3 separate regions of the Homo sapiens genome follow, and all the other regions are linked to region 1. Evidence: promoter capture Hi-C in human tissues and cell types (Jung and others, 2019). All regions are on one chromosome and are shown on one strand. The core of a region is centred on a gene start or on the middle of the fragment in contact, and the rest is flanking DNA. Distances in the headings are between cores, read along the strand shown. Region 1 holds the start of SLC7A10 (solute carrier family 7 member 10). Region 2 overlaps PEPD (peptidase D). Region 3 has its middle 9.1 kb from the start of CEBPG.

Region 1 (3,742 bases), core at 675-3,174:
CACCACCACCTCTACCATCACCACCACCACCACCACCACCACCACCACCACCACCACCACCACCAGGGCCCCTTTCTGGGGAGAAAGGAGCCAGGCAGCCTCCCTGTGGCCTGGGGAGGATGGGATGTGGGGAGGGGATAGAGTAGGAAGACAGGTCAAGGATGCTGGGCTTAGCTGAGGAGCCCAGGCAGAGCTGTGTCTTTCTGCACCTGCCTGGCACTGTAGCTGGTTCTAGGCATGGTCTCAATCCTATGACCCACTCATGGTGTGAGCTTCCCCTTCCCTGGAGGACAGTTCCTGGAGAGGGTGTGGGCCAAGAAAAAGCTCTAACCAGCACCCTGGCCAAATCCCTGGAACCAGCCCTTCCTTCCAGCAGACCGTCCATCAGGCAGGGGCATCCTAGGCCAAGAAGCTCCCAGGGCCAGGTCAGGACCAGGCTCTGGGAGACAGCATTCTAAGGGGAGGGGGTGAGATGGCGGAGTGACCTGGCCAGGGGCTGTGTTCAGGGGCAACTCTGGATGTGAAGAGCTGCTAATGTGGGGGTGGGAGAGGACGAGGTGAAGACCCTGGGTCTGCCCTACTGAGCCCCCAAACTTTCTCCATCTCCAGGGGTCTGAGGGTGGGAAGGCAGTGAAGACACAAGTGGCTCTCACTGGCAGGGGACCGGGAAGACTGGCTGGCGGTAAGGTGAGAACAGTCGAGGCCCCAGTCACTCACCCCCCAAACCACTTCTCCTGTCCCTCCCTGGAGGGGCTCAGAGGCACTCTGTGTAGACAAAGAAACAAGTCAGTATCCATGACTTGGGACAGAGAGTGGAAAAATACCACTGCCATTCCCATGACCTCTGAGCTCTCTGCCTGCCCAGAAACCCCTATGTGGGGGCAGGACATGGACCCATTCTCAGGTGGGGACTTTGGAGTCCAGGGCCTCCAGACCAGGCGAGTGTCCAGTGCCCACCAGGATCCCAGCTCAGGGAGCAGCTGGCCTTCTGCAGGCTGGGTCTGCCCACTGCTGCCCCCAATTGCTGGCTAACCCGCCCCCTCTCCTGGGTCCTGCTGCCAAACCCTGCAGTCATTGCCTGCTCTGAACCTCCGTCCCTTCTGCGCAGGCTGCGCTTGCTCACTCTGCTCATAGGCCCTCCTGCTTTCCAAGAATAAAGTCACTGCACTGCGTGGCACCTGGACCCTGCACACAGTAGGTACTCAGACTGACCCACAGTACAGAACTTGGGGAGCTCAGCCTGCCGCAGCCTGACCAGCCCCTACACTGGTCAAGTTCCTGCGCTAATCGCAGGACTGCAGTCATGGCCATTTCACAGATGAGGAAACTGAGGGTAACTGCCTTGCAAAAGCCCCGCAGCAAAATCGAGTCAGGAGGAAGAGTCCAGCGGTGGAGGGGACCCAAAACTCCCCCAGGTGCAGGCGGCCGGGAGGTGGGAACACGGAGCTTTGGCACCCTGGGCCAGCAGCCCCTGACCTCCCCGCGGTCATAGCGCTCTCTGAGGCCAGACTGCAGGTTCCCCAGGCAGACCCGTCCGAGCGCCCGGAGAGGGGACGCCCCTCGTTCGGAGCGGCTGCGCCCCTCATTCGGCCTCCGCCCGGCGCCCGCCCGCCTGGGTCCCGCTCACCGATGATGATGGTGCAGGCGCTCAGCAGCCCGATCTCCTTCTTGAGCGCCACCCGCTCCGAGGCGCCGGGGACGGTCCCTGGGACTGGGGAGGGCGAGGGCGCAGGCCTGGGGTTCCCGCGCCCGCTCGGCTGCTGCGTGTGGCCGGCCATGTCGCTGTCCCGCCGCGTCCCCGCTCCCTGCGCTGCCCCGTCTGTCCGGCCGGCCGCCCGTCGGTCCGTCGGTCCGTGAGCTCACGGCCCTCGCAGCCGGGACAGCGCCCACAGGCGGGCGCATGCGCTGGCTCCGGGCCCGGGACTGGGGGCCCCGGGCGGCGGGGGCCCGGGAGGGGCGGAAGGAGGGCCGGCCCACAGCCCCCTCCCCCACCTCCCTTAAAGGGAACGCCCCCTCCCCCAGTCCCGGCCTGGGAAGGAAGGAGAGGACTTGGGGCAGATCTAGGAAGGACTTCCCAGTTGGGCGAAGGAAGGGACCCTCCAGTTGCCTGAGTTACATCCATTCTTGGGGCCGGGTTGGGGAGCAGAGCTCCGAGACAAGACAATCCCTGCTCTCAGGGAGGCCGAGGGGGACGGCAAGAATAACAGCTGGCCGCGTGTGGGGATGCAGTGTGTGCTCCCTTTAGTACTCTATGCCTGCACGATGTGTGTGTGTGTGTGTGTGTGTGTGTGTGTGTGTGTGTGTGTGTAGGAGACAGCTCCCAGGGTGAGTCCATTCTACAGGTGGAAGTTGAAGCCCAGAGATCAGTAGCGATCGCCGAGCAAGTGCAGGGCTGAGACCAAACCCTTTCTCGTGCCTCCTGAGGCTCCCAGGCGGACAACCTCAGGAGGGGTGGGGGTTGAGGTCTGGAACTCCTCTGAGGGGTCTGGGTGTCCTATGCACCCTGGATCAAAGGCCTGAGGGTCGAGGTGAAGATCCCGGGGGCTCTCATCCTCATCACGGGGACCCAAGACCTGTGACGAGTCCTGGACACGGCTCGCCCACCCTACCAGGCTCTGGGCCACCTCTGGCCTGAGATCTTCACTACAGGCTCCTCGTCCCAGGTCAGAGTGAGGGCTCAGCGGACTAGAACTCGGGTCTCTGGTGCAGGTCCCGCGCGATCCAGCCCGGCTCAAGAAGGCCAGGCGACCTGGAATGCCCGGGAGACACGGAGAAGGAGGCTGTGGTCGCGGGAGAGGGTCGGGAGTGCGGGGATCCGAGGGAGGCTGCCTCCTCCCGGAAGCCGTCCGGACTGTGCAGCCGAGGCCGGCGGAAAAGATCCAGGGGGGCCGCGTCGGGGCCACCGGGGCGGCGGGCGGGGCGAGCCTGGCACTGTGCGGCCGGCGGCGGAACAGCCTTTGTTTCTTCCTGGCGGCCGCCGCGACGCGCCGTCCCCTGCATGTGGATGAGGCCTCGCCGGGCGCCCCGTCCTTCCCCCCAGTGGCGGCCTCCGGGTTTGCTGGGGCCCTGCCAGGGGTCCGACGGCTGCAGGGTGGACCGGGGTGGGACGGGGCGGGGGCGGGTCCCTGGCAGGGGCGGGTCCCTGGCAGCGGCAGGGCCTGGAGGTGGGAGCGGGGCGGGGCCGGCGTTTGCAGGCACACAGGAGCTTCGAAGTTGGGGGCGGGGACTTGGGGTAGGAGTAGGAGCGGGAGGATCCAGGGTGGACGTGCTGGTGGGACGCCGAGGGGGAGGCCACCCGGCGAAGCTGCATCCCTCTCGCTTCTGTCGTCGGAGACCGGCATTCTTGGCGCCCTCCACCTCCAGCCCCAGAGACCATTCAGAGGCCGACTCTCTTAAAGGAGCCTCGCGCAGGGTAGGGGCAGCCCTGGCTCCGGAGACCCCTGATTGTCGCGGGTGTTAGGGGCCAGAGGCCTCGACCTTCTGGTTTGACTCTCCCCAGCCCCCCAGTTGCCCTCGCAATTCTAGGGTCTGCTGGGAGAGGGTCTAGCCAGGGCTGGTGCAATCAGGGGCAGCTTGCCAAGGGGCAGGGGCTGGCGCAAGCCTCGCAGCTCTGAAGCCTGTGGTTTTCGAGGGTGTCTCTCTGGGACCTGGAATGTGGAGTATGCGTTTGTGGGGGAAAGGTCGGCCTAGGGCTTTGCACAGGATGGAGTTTGTATGTTGTCAGCCAGGCCCCATAGCTCAG
Region 2 (3,742 bases), core at 342-2,841, 190 kb after region 1:
CAGGGAAGCAAGAAAGCCACATGCTCCTCTCCTCAGCCGCCCCCGTATTCGTGGTGCAAGCGCTCAGGAGGCCGCTTCCACCTCGCTCCTGGGAGTCTCAGCGCTGAGTTTCGCCACAGTCCAGGCACGTTCCTACCAAGGCAGGCAAGGGCAGTGCCCCACATGGCAAGCCCTGTGCGCCAGGCCAGACAGGCAGCCTCAGAAGCCACTTCACACCTCTGTGGCGCCCTCCCAGAAAGCCCGAGAAGAGGCCTGACCCACGCCGTGGAACAGGGGTGCTCCCTTGGCTTTGTGAGATGTGGTCCTGCACCAACAGAAGCGAACCTCAGAGGTCACATGGTCATTCTCGACGTGATGGCGACAGCGGACCTCTGTGGGACAAGTGACCTGCAGACAACCACGGGCTGCGCTGGGACTGGCCGGCTTCAGAAAAGACAGGCAGAGGGACAGAGATGCCATCCGCATGTGCAGAGGAACTCACATATTCTACAAGAAAGGAGCGGCAGGCCGGGCGCAGTGGCTCACACTTGTCATCCCAGCACTTTGGGAGGCCAAGGTTGGAGGACTGCTTGAGGCCGGGAGTTCAAGACCAGCCTGGGCAACACAGCAAGACCCCAGCTCTCAAAAAATCAATCAATCAATCAATACAAGAAAAAAACATCAGAAAGGGGAGGCAGTGAGGAAACTTGGCTCTCTCGCCTGCAGCAAGCTTCCCCCTGCATAACCCACTCAGTGGAGACAACTGTCTTTGAATGCCTTTGCTGCTTTTTAAGAAAAAAATAGTGCCTTCAAGAAGGCACAGCTCACAGAAGCATCAAACTAAAGAAAGGCTGACCCAGTTTTCACCTGCAAAGTGCAGCCCGACACTGGTCACCTTTGCCGGCCACGTTGACAACTCCACACACTGTTCCATAGGAAGGAGTTGAAAAGAGGAGGAGCACCACGTGCTGGATATTCACGCCCGCCTAAAAAAAGCTGAAATGCTTCACAGTGGACTTCAGTCCTGAATTTTGTTTTAAATGACCTTTTCTGACGCAACTTGAGGACACACTGGTGCTTTGGTGGCAATAACAGGTGGGCAAAACGAGCCCACGTTTTCTGCAGACTTTAGGCTTGGGGTGTGGACGCACAAGGGCACCCAAGTTCTGGGCAGCTGTGGCGGCACAGGGGGCCTGTGGAAGCGTGTGAGCCCGGCGCGGCACAGTTCTGATCTTCAAGCGGTGAGCACTGAGGGGTGGACATTCCAAACTGGGGCCCATGCTTGATGCGGACGCAACGTGTGCCCCCGCACAGCTGGGCCAGAGCTTGGCGAGTGGTGCTGGGATGACCAGGAGCAAGTGTGGGCTATGAGGACAGGCTAACAGCCTGTCCCGTGGATGACCGACATGCCATGGCAGTGGCAGCATCACAACTCCTCCAAGTGCGAGGCAGGAGGGGTCCAGCCAAGTCATCCCTGGAGCAGGCTAGCTACTACCCACCCAAAATAATTAACACCTGGAACAGGCTCTCCAGCAGAGGGCAGCAGCCAGCAAGACAGGCAGGAGTGTCACCGCCCCACTGCGACCATCTCCATAGGCTCCTTCCATAAATTTATGACTCACATCGTGCAGCCCCGGACCAGCTGGGTCTAACAGCCCCTGCTCCCTCCTGCTCACCTGGAAGGCGGATGGGGTGGTACACACACCCCAGCCAGGCTCAAGCCCAGCGCGCACCTCCTCCCCAGCAGCAGGGAGGGGCTTCCTGATTGGCTGAGAGGAGGCCGTGGTCTGCCTAAGTCCCAGCCAACGACATCCCGGCTGCTGTGTGGGCCCCGTTGTTTTTCCTTATGTGGCCATTCCTCTAACACCCTCACCTATAAATTTCTCCCAGGCAAGACTCGGGTAGAAGAGGCTTGTATCCAGGCATAAGTGAGAGAGCCCTTAAGCAACCTGGGGGAACTGCATGAGTGGTGAATAACGAGGTGGATGGAGTTACTGCAGTGTCAGTGGGGCAGGCACATCTGTCAGTGCCAGGAGATGACAAATGGGGCAGGAGCAGCAAGTTCCCAGACCCAGATCTGCAGGAATGGGGTCCCCAGAGACGGCGTCGCTGGGCCTCCCACTGGGACCCACAAATCCAGCCCGTGGAGCGCTCCCGGGCACACGGCCCAGCTCCTGCCCTCAGAAGTTTATCACCTAACATGAAGACGAGTCACAGTCCTATAAAAATGCTGCAGCTGCCCAGACAGCGGTAGAAGGGCTGCCTGGCAGCAAGTGTCGGCCAAGCTATGTGCCTCGAGCATGGGTGGGGTAGCGCCGAAGAGGTTAGTGAGGCAGTGTAAGGGGTGGCCCTGGCCACATCATTCCCTTTCCCCGGCTGGGCCTCAATGGATCTCAGGTACTCAAGAGGTGGAGAGGGGAGGCTGGGCCGGAAACAGAAGCTTGGGAGTGAAAATGCGCAGAGCTGGTGGAGCCCCCTCAGCTGGGCAGAGGGCTTAGGAAAGCAGGTAGTTGGGACATGGGGTTACAAACCTGAGGTGGGGAGGGTGTGTTCCGCACCCCGGTCCCTGTGCTGGGCTCCCTGCTCTGGGCCCCACATACCCAGCCTTCTGGGACTCAACACCAACCTCAAGGGCAAATCTTGGCTCTGCTGCTGGCCAGCTGAATGGCCTCTCCGTGCCTCAGTTTCCTCATCTGTAAAATGGGGATGATAGCGGTGCCTCCCTCCCAGGGCTGCTATGCCAGTCGAATGATTTAACATACATGGAGTATACACAATGGTGCCTGGTACCCAAGGAGCTCTGTGTACAGTGACCTAGCCATCGTGGTCACTGTTCAGAGGCCTGGAGGGAGGCTGGAGAATGGGGATCCCTCCTCAGGCAGCAGGAGAGGAGGTCGTGGGCATCCTGTGCCAGGCTTTGAGAAACAGCCTCTTGACTATTCCTTTAAAACCAAACAGAATCTGCATAGGTCCACGGCCCGGACACCCACTCCCGCACCCTCCAGGCAGCCAAGTTCTCTACAGAAGTCCTTCCTGGGCCCACACACTCCCAGCATCTCCAGGATGTTCACCAGCAAAAACGCGGAGGTGTGTCCTCTGCACCAGCTACCGGGACACGTGCGCACAGACAGGCTTCTGGCTGGACAGAGGGGGCCTGTGCCCACCATCCCTTCACAGCTGCCCCTCGCCCTCACGGAGCTGACCCAGGGTCCCCGCCTTCCCGGGGTGCGCCCAGGACTGGGGCACATAAGAGGGAGAGAGCCACAGAGAGTGAGAAGTACCTCATGATGTTTGGGGCCAAGCAGTTGTGCTGTGTATAGTCGTCTCAGCACTAAGTTGCTTATAATTCACATTTATTTTAAGTAATTGCTGCGATATTTTCTGGGTACACATGACCATAATTGTGTCATTAACGTGATACACCACTTACTAAGGGAAAATCCTTTTCAGAGTAAGGGCCATACAGTCCTGCAGGGGATGCCCTGAGACACCTCAGGCCGAGCAGAGCGTGCCTTATGGTCCCCAAAGTGGGAGCAGCTACTATGGAGGACTTGGAGCCAAAACCGGATGTTTCTACCAGTGGAGCCCTGGCATAGCTCCTTTTGCATGGAACCAGAAGCACGTACTACATTCTTCTTGAATTCCCATGGAAGGAGGGGAGCTGCTCCACGCCCTTCTTCTGGGGTGACCAGTGGGTCATCAGAAGGCACAGGCGAAGGCGCCCAAGCCCTACCCTTGGAATCGCCGCCTGGGTGGCACCAGC
Region 3 (3,742 bases), core at 344-2,843, 140 kb after region 1:
CTTGAGAAGGACATGGTAATAGAGCATGCAGATTTCTCAGACATGAAGGTGTGGGTCACCCCACAGGTGAACTACTTAGACCAGGAGAGGTGTGCTAGCCAAGGGTGAGGGAATCTCGAATGGGTAGTAGGGGAGGCAGATGATGAAAACCAGCTATAGCCTTGAGGTCAGCTGTAGCAGTAGGAGCTGCTGTTCATCCTTCATCCCACTAGCTGTCCTCTTGGAGGCTTCTCCAGGAAAGGAGGCCATCCAGAATCCCAGAGAAGCTGTTCACTGATGGGATTAACTTACTACGTGTAAGTAAGAAGTGGATCCGAGTGACGCAAGAAGTGGATTGCAGTGGAGGTCATTGTGTGCCTCCCAGATCCCACATTCAGGTTGGAGGGACCCATTTCCCCAGCTGTGTTTTCTAAAGTCTCATAGGTACATAGCACAGTAATATGTATATACAACAGAGTCTTGCCAAGCACAGGGGCTCATGCCTGTAATCCCCATTTGTGGGGCTTAGGTGGGAGGATCACTTGAGCCTAGGAATTCAGGACCAGCTTGGCAACATATTGAGACCCTGTCTTTACAAAAAATTGAAAAATTAGCCAGGCATGGTGGTCCACAACTGTAGTCCCAGCTACTCAGGAGACTGAAACAGGAGTCTCTCTTAACTCTTCAGCCCAGGAGGTCAAAGCTGTAGTAGCAGGCCATGATGGTGTCACTGCACTCCAGCCTGAGTGACAGAGCAAGACCCTGTCTCTAAAGCACACACACACACACACACACACACACACACACACACACACACAGAGAGAGAGAGAGAAAGAGAGACAATCTTCTCTATAAGAACAAAGTATACACACAGGCCAGGACTGAGACTGGAGTTTGGGGAATGGGAAGGATTTGGATATATGGAATTGGGAGGAAATGGCCCACCAGATGGCATATCAGAATGAGGCGGGCATTTCCAGCTTTTCTTGATCATCCTCCACCTCCCTCTCCCTAGAAGGAAGAATCCTCCTCCTTCCCTCTCCCACTTCCCTCTGCCCTAGACACACTCCGATCTCACAAGCCATTCTGGCTGCTGCGACTTTTAGTTTTATCCGTCGTCTAGCTGAGATTAAACTGGAATGTTCCATTTGCTCTTTTGGCTCTCAAGTAGGCTCAGGGCTTCCCACCTATGGGTGCAGTTGGATCTTTTTCACTGTAACAGAACAAATGCTCTGACCTCCACCACAAAGTGTTTCTGAGGGTGCCCGGCCTTAGTGAGTTCCTGGGCACCCCCCATAATGTACCCAGGCCATTCATATTTAAGGCCCCCAAAGTCTCCTGAGGGCTTCAGTGGAGCCTCTGCTTCAGCTCCTTCTTCTTCTTCTTCACAAAGTTGATACCCCTATGCCAAGGGCACGGATTCCTGATTTTTACAAGAATCACTTCCTAGAGGCATCAAAGTGGTTTCTGCATTCACTCCAGTTCCCACTTGGCTGAAGGCACAGGGGATCGTTCACGGAGGTCGGGGGGAAAGTCACTCTCTTTGTAAGGACTACAAAACAGCACTTGTCTCTCCCCAAATCCCAGTTTCTTCTGCACCTCAGTTCCCCCCCAGAAACCTCTGCAAAGGAAAGACAACAACCCCACCTTCCTCTTCCAGCCAAAACCCCAACATTTATGCAAATAGACTGGCGACTCCACCTGCTAAACCCAAGTCAATATGAATCCCAGTTGAGGCTGACACAGGAACTGATTATTACCGTGGGAATCTAAACGAAAAATAAGATGAAAAAGGAGCAGTCACGGCGGCCTAGGAGTGGACGCAGATTCCTGACGCTAAGCACAGGGATTCTAGGCCACAAGCCCACCTGGCCTGGCTGTGTCTCCTTGGCCCTGTCTCATCTGTTGGGCACCAGCTCCCCCCTGCCCCCTTCTCCAGCCCCTTGGCTTGGTCCTCACAGGACTCCCAGAACTTGGGACAGGGCCTGGCTCAGAGCAGGAATTCAATCAACATCTATTGACTGAGACAGATGAAAGAGAATAGGAGAATGAGTGCCAGGGACAACCATGTCCCTCTGTCTGGGAAGCTTCTCATTTCCTTCTCAGCTCAGTCTTGTGGCTTCCAGGGGTTGACCTGGTGTTTGGACCTTCAGCGGAGGATGGGGCTTCCCCACTAGACCCAAAAATGGTGTCCTGGGCTTCTCCGTCACCCTGCAGTCTCAAAGTGGACCCCTCCACCTCCCCTTCCTTCTTTCTATCCCTCTCTCCTCCTGGAGGAGCTCCTGTAGATCTACTCTCCCTCTCTGCTCCATTTCTCTGCATGATTTGGGTTTGCCTGGCAGAAGCACAGTCACCGCTCGTGGACTGAGGGAGGGAGTGGGGCCTGAGGCTCTTCTGCTGCTTTCTTCTTTACCCATTTGGCTAAAATCTGGCCTGGGTTGTTAATGTTTTAAAACAGTACTGTTTTAGGTTAATGTTAAGACTGCAATGCATCCCAAATACTTAAAAAAATTTCTCAGAACTATTTTATTTTTAATTAATTATTGTAAGAGATAGGGTCTCGGTCTGTTGCCCAGGTTGGAGTGGGATGGCACTATCGCAGCTCACTGTAGCCTCGACCTTCTAGGCTCAAGCCACCCTCCCGCCTCAGTCTTCCAAGTAGCTGGGACCACAGGCACACGCCCATGCTCGGCTAATTTTTAATTTTTTTTTGTAGAGATGGGGCCTCACTATGTTGGCCAGGCTGGTCTCAAACTTGACCTCAAGCAATCCTCCCACCTCAGCCTCCCAAAGTGCTAGGATTACAGGCACTGTGCATGACTCAAAACAACTTAAGATTTATAAAAAATTGAGAAGGAGGTATAGATTTCCCAGTTTCACCTATTACTAACACCTTACATTCATATATTTGTTATAGTTAACGAAGATATATTGATACATTATCATTAATTGAAGTCCATTATTAAATATTGCCCGTACTTCAAATCTGGATTTCCTTAGTTTCTAATATCCTCTTTCTGTTTCAGGATCCCATCTAGGATACCACATCACATTTAGTCATCATGTCTCTTTAGGATCCTCTAGACCAGGTGTCCCTATTTCCTGAGCCACAGACCCATTAGCAACCGGGCTGCCCAGCAGGAGATGAGTGGCAGGTGAGCAAAAGTTACTGCCTGAACTCTGCCTCCTGTCTTATCAGCAGCGGCATTAGACTCGCACAGGAGCACAAACCCTATCGTGAACTGTGCATACAAGGGATCCAGGTTGCACGCTCCTTATAAGACTCTAATGCCTGATGATCTGAGGTAGGACAGTTGCATCCCGAAATGATCTCTCCTCCCCTCCTGCTCCCTATCTGTGGAAAAACTGTCGTCCATGAAATTGGTCCCTCTTGCCAAAAAGATTGGGGACTGCTGCTCTAGACTGTGATACTTTGTCTGACTTTCCTTGTTTTGATGATCTTGACGGTTTTGCGAAGTCTTAGGTAGGTATTTTACAAAATGCTGCTCTATTGGAATTTGGTGTTTTTCTTAGACTGGGGTTATGAGTTCTCAGGAGGAAGACCAAAGGGTAAAGGGCCATTTTCATCTTATCTTATCAAGGATACTTGCTATCAACACGGTTTATGACTGCTGATGTGGACTTCGATCACCTGCTAGTCTTTGTCAGGTTTCTGCACCATAAAGTTACTCTTTCTTCTCCTCCATATTCTACGCTTCGAAAGGAAGTCACTGTGTAGCCCACAGTTAAGAATCAGGGAGTG

What was found. The method cuts DNA at HindIII sites, captures the fragments that hold promoters and counts their contacts. A contact is called where the count stands out against the background at its distance.
Region 2: a fragment that was not itself captured here is called in contact with the fragment with the promoter of SLC7A10 in region 1 in 1 of the 25 tissues and cell types used here (spleen).
Region 3: a contact is called between a fragment that was not itself captured here and the fragment with the promoter of SLC7A10 in region 1, in 2 of the 25 tissues and cell types used here (H1 embryonic stem cells and bladder).

Annotation. Positions count from the first base shown.
Region 1 is chr19:33,223,926-33,227,667 of GRCh38, forward strand. SLC7A10 (solute carrier family 7 member 10) reads right to left here and starts at 1,925. Exons shown (of 11, transcript NM_019849.3): 1 at 1,628-1,925. The coding sequence starts at 1,778. The HindIII fragment of the contact is 48,714 bases long and covers 1-3,742 here.
Region 2 is chr19:33,414,885-33,418,626 of GRCh38, forward strand. All of the region lies in intron 9 of PEPD (peptidase D), which reads right to left. Among named protein-coding and RNA genes, the nearest start is that of CEBPG, 43 kb to the left of the region's middle. RefSeq lists enhancers at 1,451-1,600, 3,507-3,742. The HindIII fragment of the contact is 3,918 bases long and covers 1-3,550 here.
Region 3 is chr19:33,362,714-33,366,455 of GRCh38, forward strand. No RefSeq gene overlaps it. Among named protein-coding and RNA genes, the nearest start is that of CEBPG, 9.1 kb to the right of the region's middle. The HindIII fragment of the contact is 9,696 bases long and covers 1-3,742 here.